Regions from separate parts of the Homo sapiens genome. Here region 2 is linked to region 1. Evidence: promoter capture Hi-C in human tissues and cell types (Jung and others, 2019). All regions are on one chromosome and are shown on one strand. Each heading gives the region's core, a stretch centred on a gene start or on the middle of the fragment in contact. The rest is flanking DNA. Distances are from core to core; before and after follow the strand shown.

Region 1 (6,721 bases), core at 1,869-4,368:
GCCAAACAGGCACTTTGAGCTGCTTTCTCACAGCTCAGATCCCAGTGTGGACACCCAGGTCCCAAGACTGTGTCCATTTCCCCGAGGTGGAAGGGAGAGGAGCTGTCTTCAGGGGCAGATGTGCTACTGAGCATGCAAATGTGGATCCGGATGCTTCCCTTTCCATGTGCTCCAGCCCAGTGTCCCACAGCCTAGTGACCTTTGGGCATCTCTAAGTCAGCAGACCCCAAATGTGAGTGTGTGTGTGTGTGTGTGTGTGTGTGTGTGTATGTGTGTGTGTCACCATCATCCACTTAGCAGCTCAAGGCAGAGACCTGGAGGCTGTGGGTAGGGGTCAAGTTGACGAGGGGACATAGCAAAATGGTAATCACATTCAAACAACATTTCAAGTAGTTTACCCAAAGTCATACAGATTATAAATAATAAGTCTATGTTTGAACCCAGGTCTTCGGAATCCAGTTCCTCAGTCTTCCATCTGCTCTGTACTGCCTTTCTGTAAGGAATGGATAAAAAGTAGGCTCTGGCAGTCCATGAATACTGCCTTTAAATAGCCTAAGAGTTGTCGTGGAAGAATTTGCTTGCCCCGTAGAACTTCAAGAGTAGACCCAAGACCATTTAATGGCTTCAGAGAGGTACACATGCCAATCCAGTGTGACGAAACGTTTATCACTCATGGCTGGCCAAAATAGGGTGAGCTGTCCATGTCAGACTACTGGATGGAATGTTCTAGAAGGAACTGAAGGGTCCAATCCTCAGCTTCTGTGATTTCATGATCCCACCACAGGGCATTTCTGGGTCATGATGTTCATAATTATAACCCTTAGAAAGTTGTTACCCAAATAATATAGTTGAATGCTGCCATGTTCCAAGAAACAATTCAGCGGGCTGGGCATGGTGGCTCACACCTGTAATCCCAGCACTTTGGGAGGCCAAGGCGGGCGGATCACGAGATCAGGAGTTCAATGTCAGCCTGGCCAACATGGTGAAACCCCGTCTCTACCAAAAATACAAAAATTAGCCAGGCGTGGTAGCAGGTGCCTGTAATCCCAGCTACTGGGGAGGCTGAGGCAGGAGAATCGCTTGAAACTGGAAGGCGGAGGTTGCAGTGAGCTGAGATCGCGCCACTGCACTCCAGACTGGGCGAAAGAGCGAAACTCTGTCTCAGAAACAAACAAACAAACAAAAATTTGGCAAACAAAAATCCCCACACATTCCTCATTAGCATTCTTACATGCTCCATGGCAGTATTTCTTAACTCTTTTTCCCCCATGCATGTTGCCTAATCAATTCCTCAGGCACCTCTGCTCATCTTAATTCTCCCAGAAAACTTCCTCAGGCCCAGTTGCCGCTCTTCCCCTTTTTCTGTTGACTCTTCACCACCAAAGCCCTAAACTGCCTTTTTGATTTTTGGAGTGGGAGGGGGCAGCTTAAGTTGCAGGTCCCTCTGGCACTCTCGTGAATTTGTCCTTTCTGGATGACAGGCCATCTTTCTTTGCCCGGGTACAAGTAAGCGATTCATCCTTCCCTCTGCCTCACATCCCACATCACAGGAGCCCATGAGGGAAGCCCTGAAATGTCAGAGTAAGAGCTTGGATTAAAGTGAGGGATGGTTGGGGAAAAAACAGATTGGATTCTATTCTACTTTCTAAGTTTCTCTAGAACTAGGCTCTTCCTTGTTTCCACACTCTCACAGCCCTAGGTCAGGCCACCTTCAAGTCTTATCAGAAGTTCTCCAATGGCCTCGTTTCGGGTCTCAGTTTCTAGTCTTGCCCCTCCCATCCATTCTCTACATTACAGCCCAATGCAGATCTTTCTAACATTTTTATTTTTCTTTTCTTTTTTTTTGAGATGGAGTCTCACTCTGTCTCCCAGGCTGGAGTGCAGTGGTGCGATCTCAGCTCACTGCAACCTTTGCCTCCCAGGTTGAAGCAATTCTCTGCCTCAGCCCCCCAAGTAGCTGGGATTACAGGCACCCGCCACCATGCCCAGCTAATTTTTGTATTTTTAGTAGAGATGGGGTTTCACCATCTTGGCCAGGCTGGTCTTGAACTCCTGACCTCATGATCCACCTGCCTCAGCCTCCCAAAGTGCTGGTGGGATTACAGGCATGAGCCACCACGCCCGGCCCTTTCTAACATTTTTCTAGAGGGCAAATCTGATCATTCCCCTGCTTAAAGTCTTCATAGCTTCCCTGGCTCTCCTCAGTTTAGTCTAAACCTACTCCTGCCATTTGATGCCCTTTCTATTTGGCTCTGTGACTTCTCTAGCTTCATCTGTTTTTCCAAACACTTTGACTGTGGGAAGTTCTTCACCGTGCCTCCATTTGAGCCTTTGCTCAAGCTGTGCTCTCTGCCTGGGATGTCTTCCCCTCCTCTTAACTACTTGACAAATACCTACACCTCTTCCAGGATTCAACTTAAGCATCACCTCCTCTCTAGAGCACCTTCTGACTGCCTGTCTCAAATGAGTTCTCCAAGTAGACTTCTTCCTGCAAACCCATCGGCACCCATTCCATTTTCTTGTCTAGACTGGGCACTGCTGGTGGCCTGGGTTTTTAATCATCTATCACTGGCAGGCTGCACTGGGCGGGACCTACTATATACTCCAGTAAATGTGGAGTGAAGGGAGGAAAGAACTCTTGGGGCGGTTAAGGAGGCCTGGTGCATTGGAGTTTGATGAATTTGGGTTAAGGTACAAACACCCCAAGTGCTGTTTGCTCTTGGGCAAGTCCTTAGAATTCTGAGCCTCATTTCCTCAGCTCTGCCTACCTGCAGAACAACATAAGTGAAGTAACTAGTACAGTGCCTGCCTTACTGGAGGGGCTCAAATAGGCCCTCTCCACCAAGAAGCAGAAGAGGAAAGGTGTCCAGTAGTGAACAGGTTAGGCATGGAAATGCAAGGGGGCTGAGCAGAAACCTCTGAGACCCTAGTGTGCTTGGATTTCTAAAACTGCCGGCCACCTGCTCTGTCCGGGAGCAAACTTGAGTTAGAGAGGTGGGGGTGACACACCAAGAACCGACCAAAGCCAGGCCCTCCCCTGCTGCCTGAATGGACCAGCCCCGAGTGACATCACAATCCCGGGTGGTTGTCATGGCACTGCTGGAGGTGGGGGATCTCATTTCTCCCCAGGGGGCTCTAGGCTGTGGATGTGAGAAGGGGAGCAAGGGAGGCAGATGGCGACAAGGAACAGCCCCATGCCCCTGGGCACGGCTCAGGGTGACCCTGGAGAGGCAGGAACACGGCCCGGCCCTGACGCCAGCCTCCGGGACACAGGTGCGGCCACTCAGCTCAAGATGAAGCCCAGGAAGGTGCACAAGATCAAGGCGGTCATCATCGACCTGGGCTCCCAGTACTGCAAGTGCGGCTACGCGGGAGAGCCGAGGCCCACCTACTTCATCTCCTCCACCGTGGGCAAACGCTGCCCCGAGGCGGCCGACGCTGGCGACACCCGCAAGTGGACTTTAGTGGGCCATGAGCTGCTCAACACGGAGGCGCCTCTCAAGCTGGTGAACCCGCTGAAGCACGGCATCGTGGTGGACTGGGACTGCGTGCAGGACATCTGGGAGTACATCTTCCGCACCGCCATGAAGATCCTCCCCGAGGAGCACGCTGTGCTGGTCTCCGACCCTCCGCTCAGCCCCAGCAGCAACCGGGAGAAGTACGCGGAGCTCATGTTTGAGACCTTCGGCATCCCAGCCATGCACGTGACGTCCCAGTCGTTGCTGTCCATCTACTCCTACGGCAAGACCTCGGGGCTGGTGGTGGAGAGCGGGCACGGCGTCTCGCACGTGGTGCCCATATCCGAGGGCGACGTGCTGCCGGGCCTGACCAGCCGCGCCGACTACGCTGGGGGTGACCTCACCAACTACCTGATGCAGCTGCTCAATGAGGCGGGCCACGCATTCACGGACGACCACCTGCACATCATAGAGCACATCAAGAAGAAGTGCTGCTATGCGGCCTTCCTGCCCGAGGAGGAGCTGGGCCTGGTCCCGGAGGAGCTGCGCGTGGACTACGAGCTCCCGGACGGCAAACTCATCACTATTGGCCAGGAGCGCTTCCGTTGCTCTGAGATGCTCTTCCAGCCCTCCCTGGCAGGCAGCACCCAGCCGGGCCTCCCGGAGCTCACAGCTGCCTGCCTGGGCCGCTGCCAGGACACGGGCTTCAAGGAGGAGATGGCCGCCAACGTGCTACTGTGTGGCGGCTGCACTATGCTGGATGGCTTCCCCGAGCGCTTCCAGAGGGAGCTGAGCCTCCTCTGCCCCGGGGACAGCCCTGCAGTGGCTGCCGCTCCTGAGAGGAAGACCTCCGTGTGGACCGGCGGTTCCATCCTGGCCTCCCTGCAGGCCTTCCAACAGCTCTGGGTCAGCAAGGAAGAGTTTGAGGAGCGGGGCAGCGTGGCCATCTACAGCAAGTGCTGAGCCTCGGCATTTCCACAGACAAGGCCTCCAGCACAGATGGCCACAGGCCTCTCTATACACATTTACAGAATTTCACATAAAGGTTTACTCTGAAATGGCTCTTGTCTAGTCTGGGTTTCTTGCTTCTATCTGATAGCAGAGGGTAGGGGGGAGTCGGGCTTAGAAGCGGCAGCACCTTTTGCACTGGAGGTGGGGGCTGTAAGGAAGGGGGCTACCATACTGATCCCACCCCCTCTGCCTGCCTCATGATAGTGACATCATCTCAGGGCCTAGAAAGTGGCCTCCTGTTTTATTAGTACCTCCAGGTTCAAAACCTGATCCAAAGACACTCCTCATCGCTGGCTCAACTAAGGGGGTTGGCTCTGATGAAGGGACTAGCTTGGGTCACCTAGCGGTAGGTTGGAGGAGATGCACAGCTGGGTGTCCGACTCCAGTCTCCTGTTTCTGCTGTTCACAAGTGCTCCCAACCTTAACACTGCCTGATCACTCCAGGTTCCCTAACCTCCCCCTAGTGCCTGCCACCCTCAATATGGGAGCCTAAGGCTGTGCCAGTGCATCTCCAGAGTGTGAAGTGCCATTTCAACCCATCTGTGGGCGTACCCCTTTCAACCACAGCCAAAATTGCAGCTATTTTTCCAGAGTCACAAAGCAGAGCCACTGATTCCAGAGGATGTCAGAGGAACCAGAAGGTCCTTTAGAAATCGGGTCCTCTCCCGGCTATAGAGATGGGGAAACTGGGCTGGGTGCGGTGGCTCACACCTGTAATCCCAGCACTCTGGGAACCCGAGGCAGGTGGATCACCTAAGGTCAGGAGTTCGAGACCAGCCTGGCTAACATGGTGAAACCCTGTCTCTACTAAAAATACAAAAATTAGCTGGACATGGTGGTGGGTACCTGTAATCCCAGCTTCCCCAGGAGGCTGAGCAGGGAGAATCATTTGACCCCAGGAGGCGGAGGTTGCAGTGAGCTGAGGTTGCGTCATTGCACTACAGCCTGAGCAACAGAGCAAGACTCCATGTCCAAAAAGAAAAAAAAAAAAGAGAGATAGGTAAACTGAGACCAGAGAGGAGAGAGCCAGCTTAATGCCAGTGGTTGAGCCCAGGTCTCCTGATCCACATCAGGATTATTCCCATAAGGGTATAAACATGGTTCTTAATGGTTAGTCAGCAACCCAAAGCACTTACCATGCATGTACTGTGGGTCAGGCCCAGTGCTGGGGACTGAGAAATGAGCAGAACACAGTCTCTACCCTTGGCAATCACACACAGCTAATGGACAACCACATTGGTAGGGAGTCAAGGTCTGAGCTAAGTGTTCACGGTGGTGAGAAGGTAGTGGTGATGCATTGGAATGTTGTAAGTGGAGAAGTTGCTGGGCATGGTGTCCACTTATTGGCTTTGGGGCTGAGGGAGAGGCTGTGGAGGCTTGTGAGATTTCAGCTGGTGACTAACTGCCTACTTAGAAGAGTGGGTTCCTGCCCCCTTCCCTACCCTCACCTTCCAATGGAGTTCATGACCCAGTTGGTGCCATCTATGGGATCAGACATCCATGAGCTGCATAGTCTTGGATGGGCTGAGACTTAAATATCCCTGAGTCACCTCTTACCTTAAGCAAAGGGTCCTGATTTGGGGCACCCCATGAGGCTGCCTCTGTCCTGGGCCCAGTGCTGGGGGCTGCAGACTTGGGCAAGAACCAGACATAGTCATTATCACCTAAGGCCCTGCTCTTTAGTCCTTCCCCATTGTCCAGAATTGGGCATCTAGCCTGGAGTTTGAATACCCCTGGTCAAACAGGGCGTTGGCAGCAGGCATGGAACCTGGGCTCTTTCCTATAGAGGGATGTTGCAGACTGGAGGCCTGGAGGCTGAAGGTGGCCAATAGACATGTTTCATGTGGCCATCACAGTGTACAAGTGTTTTCTTGAATGTGAATTTTTTTCTGTGGGGCTGCATTTTCGAGGTTGCCAACGTCCCTGCCACACTGATGTCTTCATATATATTTGCTGCTTCAACACAACTTCTTCCTTAGCATTAGTTTCTGTTGCTTGTAACCCAAGTGATTGTAAAAAGCCTGATGAAATACAGAGAGGGAAGCTGAGGCTTATAGAGGGAAAGTGATATATCCCAAATCACACACGCAGTAAGTGCTACGTGTGAACCCCATTCCCTCCTTATCTCCTCTCCTCACTCCACACATCTTCAGCAACTTCTCCTGTCTCTAGTCACTGCTTCAGTCCCTCCAACACATGGTCATCTCCTCAAAAGCATCCCTCATGTGGCAGGGGCTGTAAAAACACTAATT
Region 2 (6,721 bases), core at 2,603-5,102, 600 kb before region 1:
AGGGGATGGGTCCAGGCTGGGGATACAGATGTGGATGTCACCAGGATAGAGATGGGATTTCAAGCTTGAAACTGGAGGAGATCCCCTGAGAAGCAAGTGGATGGAAGCTGCGAACGGTGCTTAAGGGTAGGAGAGGTGAGGAGCAGGCACTAAAGGAGTCTGAGAAGGACCAGCCAGGGAGGCGGGAGGAGGCCAAGAGCGAATGTCTGAGAATCCCAGCAGGAGGAAGAGTGATCAGCTCTGTGAAAAGGGGAGAAAGCAAGCACCTACCCCGAGTGAGCATCATATCAAGCCTTACAACAGGCTGGGTGCAGTGGTTAATGCCTGTATTCTCAGCACTTTGAGAGGCCAAAGCAGGAGGATCCCTTGAGCCCAGGAGTTTGAGGTTACAGTGAGCTAATTGTACCACTGCACTCCAGCAGGGGCAGTGGAGCAAGACCCTGTCTCTAAAAAAATAAAAAAGTCTTAGAGCCTGGCAAACAGTGAGCACCCAGAAATTCTTAGTTATGAACGTCATTGTTCTTATCACGTGGCTGCCACCCCAAGCTTCCAGCAGCCTGGTTCAAAGCTGAGTCCCATGGAACTTGAGAAGTTGGAGGGCCTGGTTGCAACTTGGAGTATCCCTCACTTTGTGTCTTTCTATGTGTAGGAATTGTTTGCACAGTCTCATTCAGACTCTTTAGCCCAGCCCACCTTGTGACCAGGAGCAGATGTCAGGGAAGCTGACTTGGATATCAGTCGTTCTTCTCTCAGCCCAGGGAGCGAGCCCTGGTGGTGACCTGGTGCCGTGAAGATGACCTCTTGAGGGCAGGGGCCAGGCCAGGAGGCCTTTTCTTATTATAAATGTGTTTTTTGTTATTACATTTTAATTTCTCTTGAGAACTGGATGAATTATGCAGAATAGATACCTGTATATGTGAATTATGCACTTCAGAGGAGGAGATGTAGTAGGAACAAACAGACCTGAGTCAGGCAGTCAGACTGTCCTTCTGCTGATGGTGCAAGGCACGGAGCCTCTCGGTGCCTCTGCTCGTTGGCAAGGGAGATGGTGATGACTACTACACTTTGCAAAGTTGCTGCAAAGATTAGAGATCATATATAAAAAGCACATTGGCATAATGTCTGGCTCCTTGTAGATGTTCAGTAAATTGTAGTTAATAATATATATTAAATGTAATATAAAATCATACATAAATAATTCCGACAAGGGGAGCAGCTAGCTTTTTGACATCTGGTAATGTGCAATGTGTGGTCTGGGTCATTCTTTCCCCACCTATTGTGATTCTTTTCTGATGGATGGTGCCCTGGGTAGAAGGAGCAGGAGGTACAAGCGCTGTTGGGCAGGAAAGGGGGCATGTTCAGGAAATGGGCGTGTTTCATGTTCCCACACTTCAGACCGAATAATCTGAGGCTGCCCCAAAGAAGTCTCTGCAGGTGGGGCCTGACAGTTATCTAATTCTCCCAATGCTGGTCACTGTGACCTATTTTCAAGTACATTATTTGCTCTCAGGCACTCAAAAAAAGGAGCTACCTTTGCCTGTTCTATACACGGTCTATTTCTGACTCATATTGTCCTTTAGTTAAATGGTTTGGTTCAAAGGATTCCTGCAAAGTCTGCCTGTTAAAGTAGAATTTGCAGTTTTCCAAACACTCCATGCTGTTTGCCATCCCTGGGCCTTTGTGCCGGGCCATCTGATCCAAAGGCCTGTTTTTAGCTCGTGTGCCTGGAGGGGAGGGGTGATGCTTGGCCCTGTCCTCCTCCCAAACCCAGATCAGGGGGTTGCTTCCTCTACGGCCCCAGTCGAGATGACCATTTGTGTGGTCCCGTTGGGTGTCCACTGTGCCTCGACTGTTTCACAGCCCTCGACGGCCTTTGACACTCTGTTACAGCCACTGCCTCCATGGCTGGGGCAGGAAAAGGGAGCTTCTTATGGCCGTGTCCCCATTCCCACACCGTGCCTGCCCCATAAACATGGAGCGGGGAAGGCAATGGAGTCCTGATCTGAAGAGGCGTGTGGTTGAACGTGCCCCTCAGCTTCTCACTTCAGATGATGGGAAGGGGAAGCAGGGAGGCAGATAATCCCACAGGGTGGCACAGGCCACATCACTCTGAGGGTATTTTGAATGGCAGTTGAGTATTTTTAGCTGTCTTCCTTTAGGCTGTTAGGTGAGAGCTTTCCTTTCCTGGACATGCACTTCGGTGGCTTCTCCAGGAGTAGGAGCCACAGGTGTGTCCTGAGGAGCCAACAGAAACCACCCTGGGGTTAGCATTTCATTGTGGATAATCCACTGGAGGCCACAGGGAGTTCACTGTGATTATGAGAGCTGAGTTTTCCGATTTAGACATTATCACTTGGGAATTGCAGCTAAGGGGGAAGGAAGAAATCTTAGACAATTAAATTAAACTCGTATTGTCTTGTGTTGATGTCATTTTTCTTAGCCCTACTTCCCATATGTGCTGTGTGGCTTCTTAAAATTTATTAAAGCTTTTCTTGTGGTGGGAAGTGTGTGTGCATAGCATTTCTGAATATTTTAACTCTTTTTTGCCTACAGTAAAGATGTTTTTACCACCAATTAATTTAAGACTTTTCCCACTTGATAATTTCCTTTGTTCTAGAAACAAGACACTGGCCAGGTTCTTCTGGATATGGTGCACAACCACCTGGGTGTGACTGAAAAGGAATATTTTGGTTTACAGCATGATGACGACTCCGTGGACTCTCCTGTAAGTGCCATTTTTAAAAAATGTGCTGAACTCCTTCACGGTTTGCTTTTATATTTTATGTTTTCTTGTCCAACAGAGATGGCTGGAAGCAAGCAAAGCCATCAGGAAGCAGTTAAAAGGTTGGTGTGATCTTTTCATTTCAGTCGAACATTAGGTGTTAGTGTATCACAGCCTGTTTCTCCCCTCCAATCGTCAGTGCCTGTGACATCTGGTACCTGTAGTTCCGGGTGTCCAGGAGTCATGAGTGAGCCGACTTCTCCCTGTCTGACTTCTGAGTCAGCAGAGATGCTTCCAGATCAGCCCTCTAGGATCCGCCCCAGCTGTGGGAAAGAAGGGGAAGGGTGAGAGTAGGCAGCTCAGAGCGAGGGAACCCACATTTCTGTATTCAAGGAAGGAAAAGGAAGGAGGATGGCCTTACTTAGCCCGATGTGAGAGCCAGGGTGGACAAGAGAGACAGGGAGATAGACAAACACAAACACCTCATACTTTCCAACAGCATAGTCGCGTTCACGGAAAACCGAACCATAAGTAGGTAATGTCACCAATATAAAAGATTAAGTCTTCCAAACTACCGCTTATCTCTCAGGAGTGAATCCCAGTGCTGCAGCTAACTCCCAGTTCGGTGGCCAGTCAGGCCACACCATAGTCCACCCTCTGCCCTGATCTGCTCTCGGCCTGATGTTCCAACATTGCCAGCATTGTTCCCCTTTATGCCACTCATGCCCCAGACCAACCTGGCTGATCTGCAGGGCCTCCCAGTGCCTCCCCTCAGTCTGTTCCATCTGCTGGGAATGCTTTTCCCTCCCACTTCCCTCTGTCGAAATCCTGCCTTTTTTCAAGGCTGCTCAGATCTCATTTCCTCTCCTAGAAACTGTGGGTGGCTCCCTCGACATTCTCTTAGATTTACCATCACCCGTGTTGGGGTTCTGAATGCTCTTGTCCTCATCTGTGTTAGTTGCCTTTAGTTCCCTCTCAGAACTGCAAGTTCCTTGAGGTTAGGACCCTTGTTATATTTCTCTCTGCATCCCCAAGGTGCCCAACACACACAAAAAGTGGCCAGTGCATGGCGGAGTGGAGAAGGGCAAGTGGATTTGCGCACGCAGGTGCGCATACACAGGATGCCCCCCAACACACACACGCACACCTGCCTCAGCACCCAGGCAGGAAGAAGTAGACACAGTGGCCTTCGCTCCCGTCTCACTGCTGCCCCCACAGGGAGCCCGATTCTCAAAGTTCTTCCCTCCCATGAGCTGCATCCTCTGCGTTCAGAAGTACCTGTGGGAGCCTCAGGGCCACTTGCAGACAAATACCTGCCTCATCCAAGTCCCCAGGAATGAGTCCACACAAGGCATGAATAGGTGTTGTCATTCATTCTCTCATTAACTCCTGCTTTCGGTGAACGTATCCTGAGCTCAGACTGTGGCAAGGTGCTGGGCTAAGCCCTGGGAATCCAGTCCAGATCAAATTTGGACTCTCCCCTCAAGGAGCCCACAGCCAAGTGTGCAGACAGCCCAGAGGGTTCGACATTCTATGATAATAGTAAGCACACGATAGGGGACAGCCAGAAAGAAAAAGAGGCTATGCCTGCAGCGCAGAGATGAAAAGTTTTAGAAGAGGGGGAGGGGAGGTGAACAAGCATCCCAAGGCAGCAGGAGGACATTGTTCTCCCCTGATGTGCAGATTGTCATAGCGCCATCCGCTGGTACCTAGACATGTGGACAGGTGTACTCAGGGGCACACCCCCGTTAGGGATTCTTTGAACACACGCTGCAGATGAAGAAAGAAAGCACTAAAGAGCAGGGAGGGTAGAGCTCAGGATGATCTCAGGTAGAGGAGGAGATCTAGCAGGCTAGTGAGAAGGACTTGAGTTGCAGAGAGCAAGAAAGTGCTCAGTGCCTAGATAGGGCTGGCGAATATTTACTGAGGGATGATGGTGAAATTGACATGAAGATCTTGGGATCTTAGCAGCACAATCTGATCTTCTCCTGTTGCCGTCTCTGTGAGAAGAAATGGACTAATTTTATCCACACAAGCAAATTGACTCTAGATGTTGATGCATAAAGCCGTATTTGAATATGTTCATTGTGTGATTTACTAGTATACTAACTTAATATACTTTACATTAAAAGCATGAGATATTTTCTAGTTTAAAAATGATTTTGAAATGTGGTATAGCAGAATCAAAGATCTCATTACTCTAATTCTGGTTTTGTCACCAGCTGTGTGACCTAAGGCAAGTCACCTCTAATTGGCTTATCTGTAAAATGGGGCTACCAGTAGCAGCGTAGCCCACTCATAGTCATGGTGGTGTTGAAATGCAGGAATGTACATGAAAATGCTTGAAACTTATAAATGGCTACACAAACGCAGGCTATTATTTCTTTGTATATTTTGCATAATAATGCCGATTTAAGGATTTTTTAAATTCCTAATACAGATGACGGAGTGCAATGTTTAAACACAGCCCTAAGATAAACGTGTGCTAGGAAGTAGATGATAACTCAGTCTGTGCTGATGTTGCATAAATGTTTTACTTTTTGAAGACTTGGAGATTTCTGAAACAACTAACTTATGTACTCCATGTTTGAAATTAGCCCTTTTATAATGGAAAAAGCTATGGTTGAGTGAAAAAATGCATCACTTATGGAAGAGAAGCAACTTACATACATTGACTTTGTCAAAGGGAAAATTTAATTTGTTTTTGAAAAATGTTGTAGGAGGTTTCCCCTGTACCCTGCATTTTCGAGTAAGATTTTTTATACCTGATCCCAACACACTGCAGCAAGAACAAACCAGGTAACAACATTTTTTTAAAGTTTTCTGTTTAGTGTATAAAAATGAGTAACCACTAAAAATGTACTCTTCATTTTATTACTATGGCCAAATAACTTCATTTGGGTGTAACTACACCAACAATGATGATCCAAGTAAAAATCTGGGGTGCACATACTGACATTTTAATCACCTAATGAGTTTTCAGTCTTGGGCCTGCTTCTCTTATCTCCTGATTTGCTGCCATTCCCAGCATACTCCCATCTGCCACCTCCTACCTCTCCCACCTCCTTCCACCTCCCTGGCCTCTCCTGCCTGCTGAACACACTGTGCTCAAAGGACAAAAAGTCATTTTCTACCAATGTAGGCAGGATGTAGAAGACAAATTTGTAAAATAGTCATCCACAGGTCAAATAGCATGATGTCTCTGAAGAGCTAAAATCAAGGCTCTTGAAGATAACAAGACATCTCTTGTTATAAGAATTTTCTTTCTTTTTTTTTGTTTTGAGACGGAGTCTCTCTCTTCACCCTGGCTGGAGCGCAGAGGTGCGAGCTTGGCTCACTGCAACCTCCGCCTCCCAGGTTCAAGCGATCCTCCCACCTCAGCCTCCCGAGTAGCTAGGATTACAGGCAGGTACCACCATGCCTGGCTAATTTTTTTTTTTTTTTTTTTTAACGGAGATGGGGTTTCCATGTCGTCCAGGCTGGTCTCAAACTCCTGACCTCAAGTGATCTGCCTGCCTCAGCCTCCCAAGGTGCTGGGATTATAGGCATGAGTCACCAGGCCAGCTTTGTTATAAGAATTTTCTATCAGATCCCCAGTTTGCAAGAGTTAGAAAGGAGAGCAGGCTGGATTCAGCTTGTCTTCTCAGTGAATCAGCAAGTACAGGAAATATGTGAACCAGATAAGGGAAAGAGGGCTGTGATAGGAGTTGTTTACCCCTCAGGGCTTGGAGTCTCTCCCAACCCTGGGCTGGTACTGGGGTTTTTCTAGGTGTGAGGGACAGAGTAATTGGAATGGAGTAGGAGAGTGTAGCACAAGAAAGTTGTTGCTGTTTTAACACAGACTGCACAAACAAACTTTCCCTCCCCTGTGGCAACGTTAAGCCCTTTTATTATTGATCCATTTATTTTTCTTAGGGAGGGAAGCTATAGAAAAAAAGCAATAGATGCTTAGTATTGAATCCTGTTTTACATTCATCGTGGCCAAAAGACATAATCAAG

What was found. Contacts are between HindIII fragments. The study calls those that stand out against the background at their distance.
Region 2: a fragment that was not itself captured here is called in contact with the fragment with the promoter of ACTL7B in region 1 in 1 of the 25 tissues and cell types used here (lymphoblastoid cells).

Annotation. Positions count from the first base shown.
Region 1 is chr9:108,852,383-108,859,103 of GRCh38, reverse strand. It overlaps ACTL7B (actin like 7B), which reads left to right and starts at 3,118. Exons shown (of 1, transcript NM_006686.4): 1 at 3,118-4,516. The coding sequence starts at 3,174. The coding sequence ends at 4,421. The HindIII fragment of the contact is 7,542 bases long and covers 1-3,488 here.
Region 2 is chr9:109,453,296-109,460,016 of GRCh38, reverse strand. It overlaps PTPN3 (protein tyrosine phosphatase non-receptor type 3), which reads left to right. Exons shown (of 26, transcript NM_002829.4): 3 at 2,618-2,725; 4 at 2,802-2,844; 5 at 5,443-5,521. Among named protein-coding and RNA genes, the nearest start is that of PTPN3, 42 kb to the left of the region's middle. The HindIII fragment of the contact is 4,671 bases long and covers 1,517-6,187 here.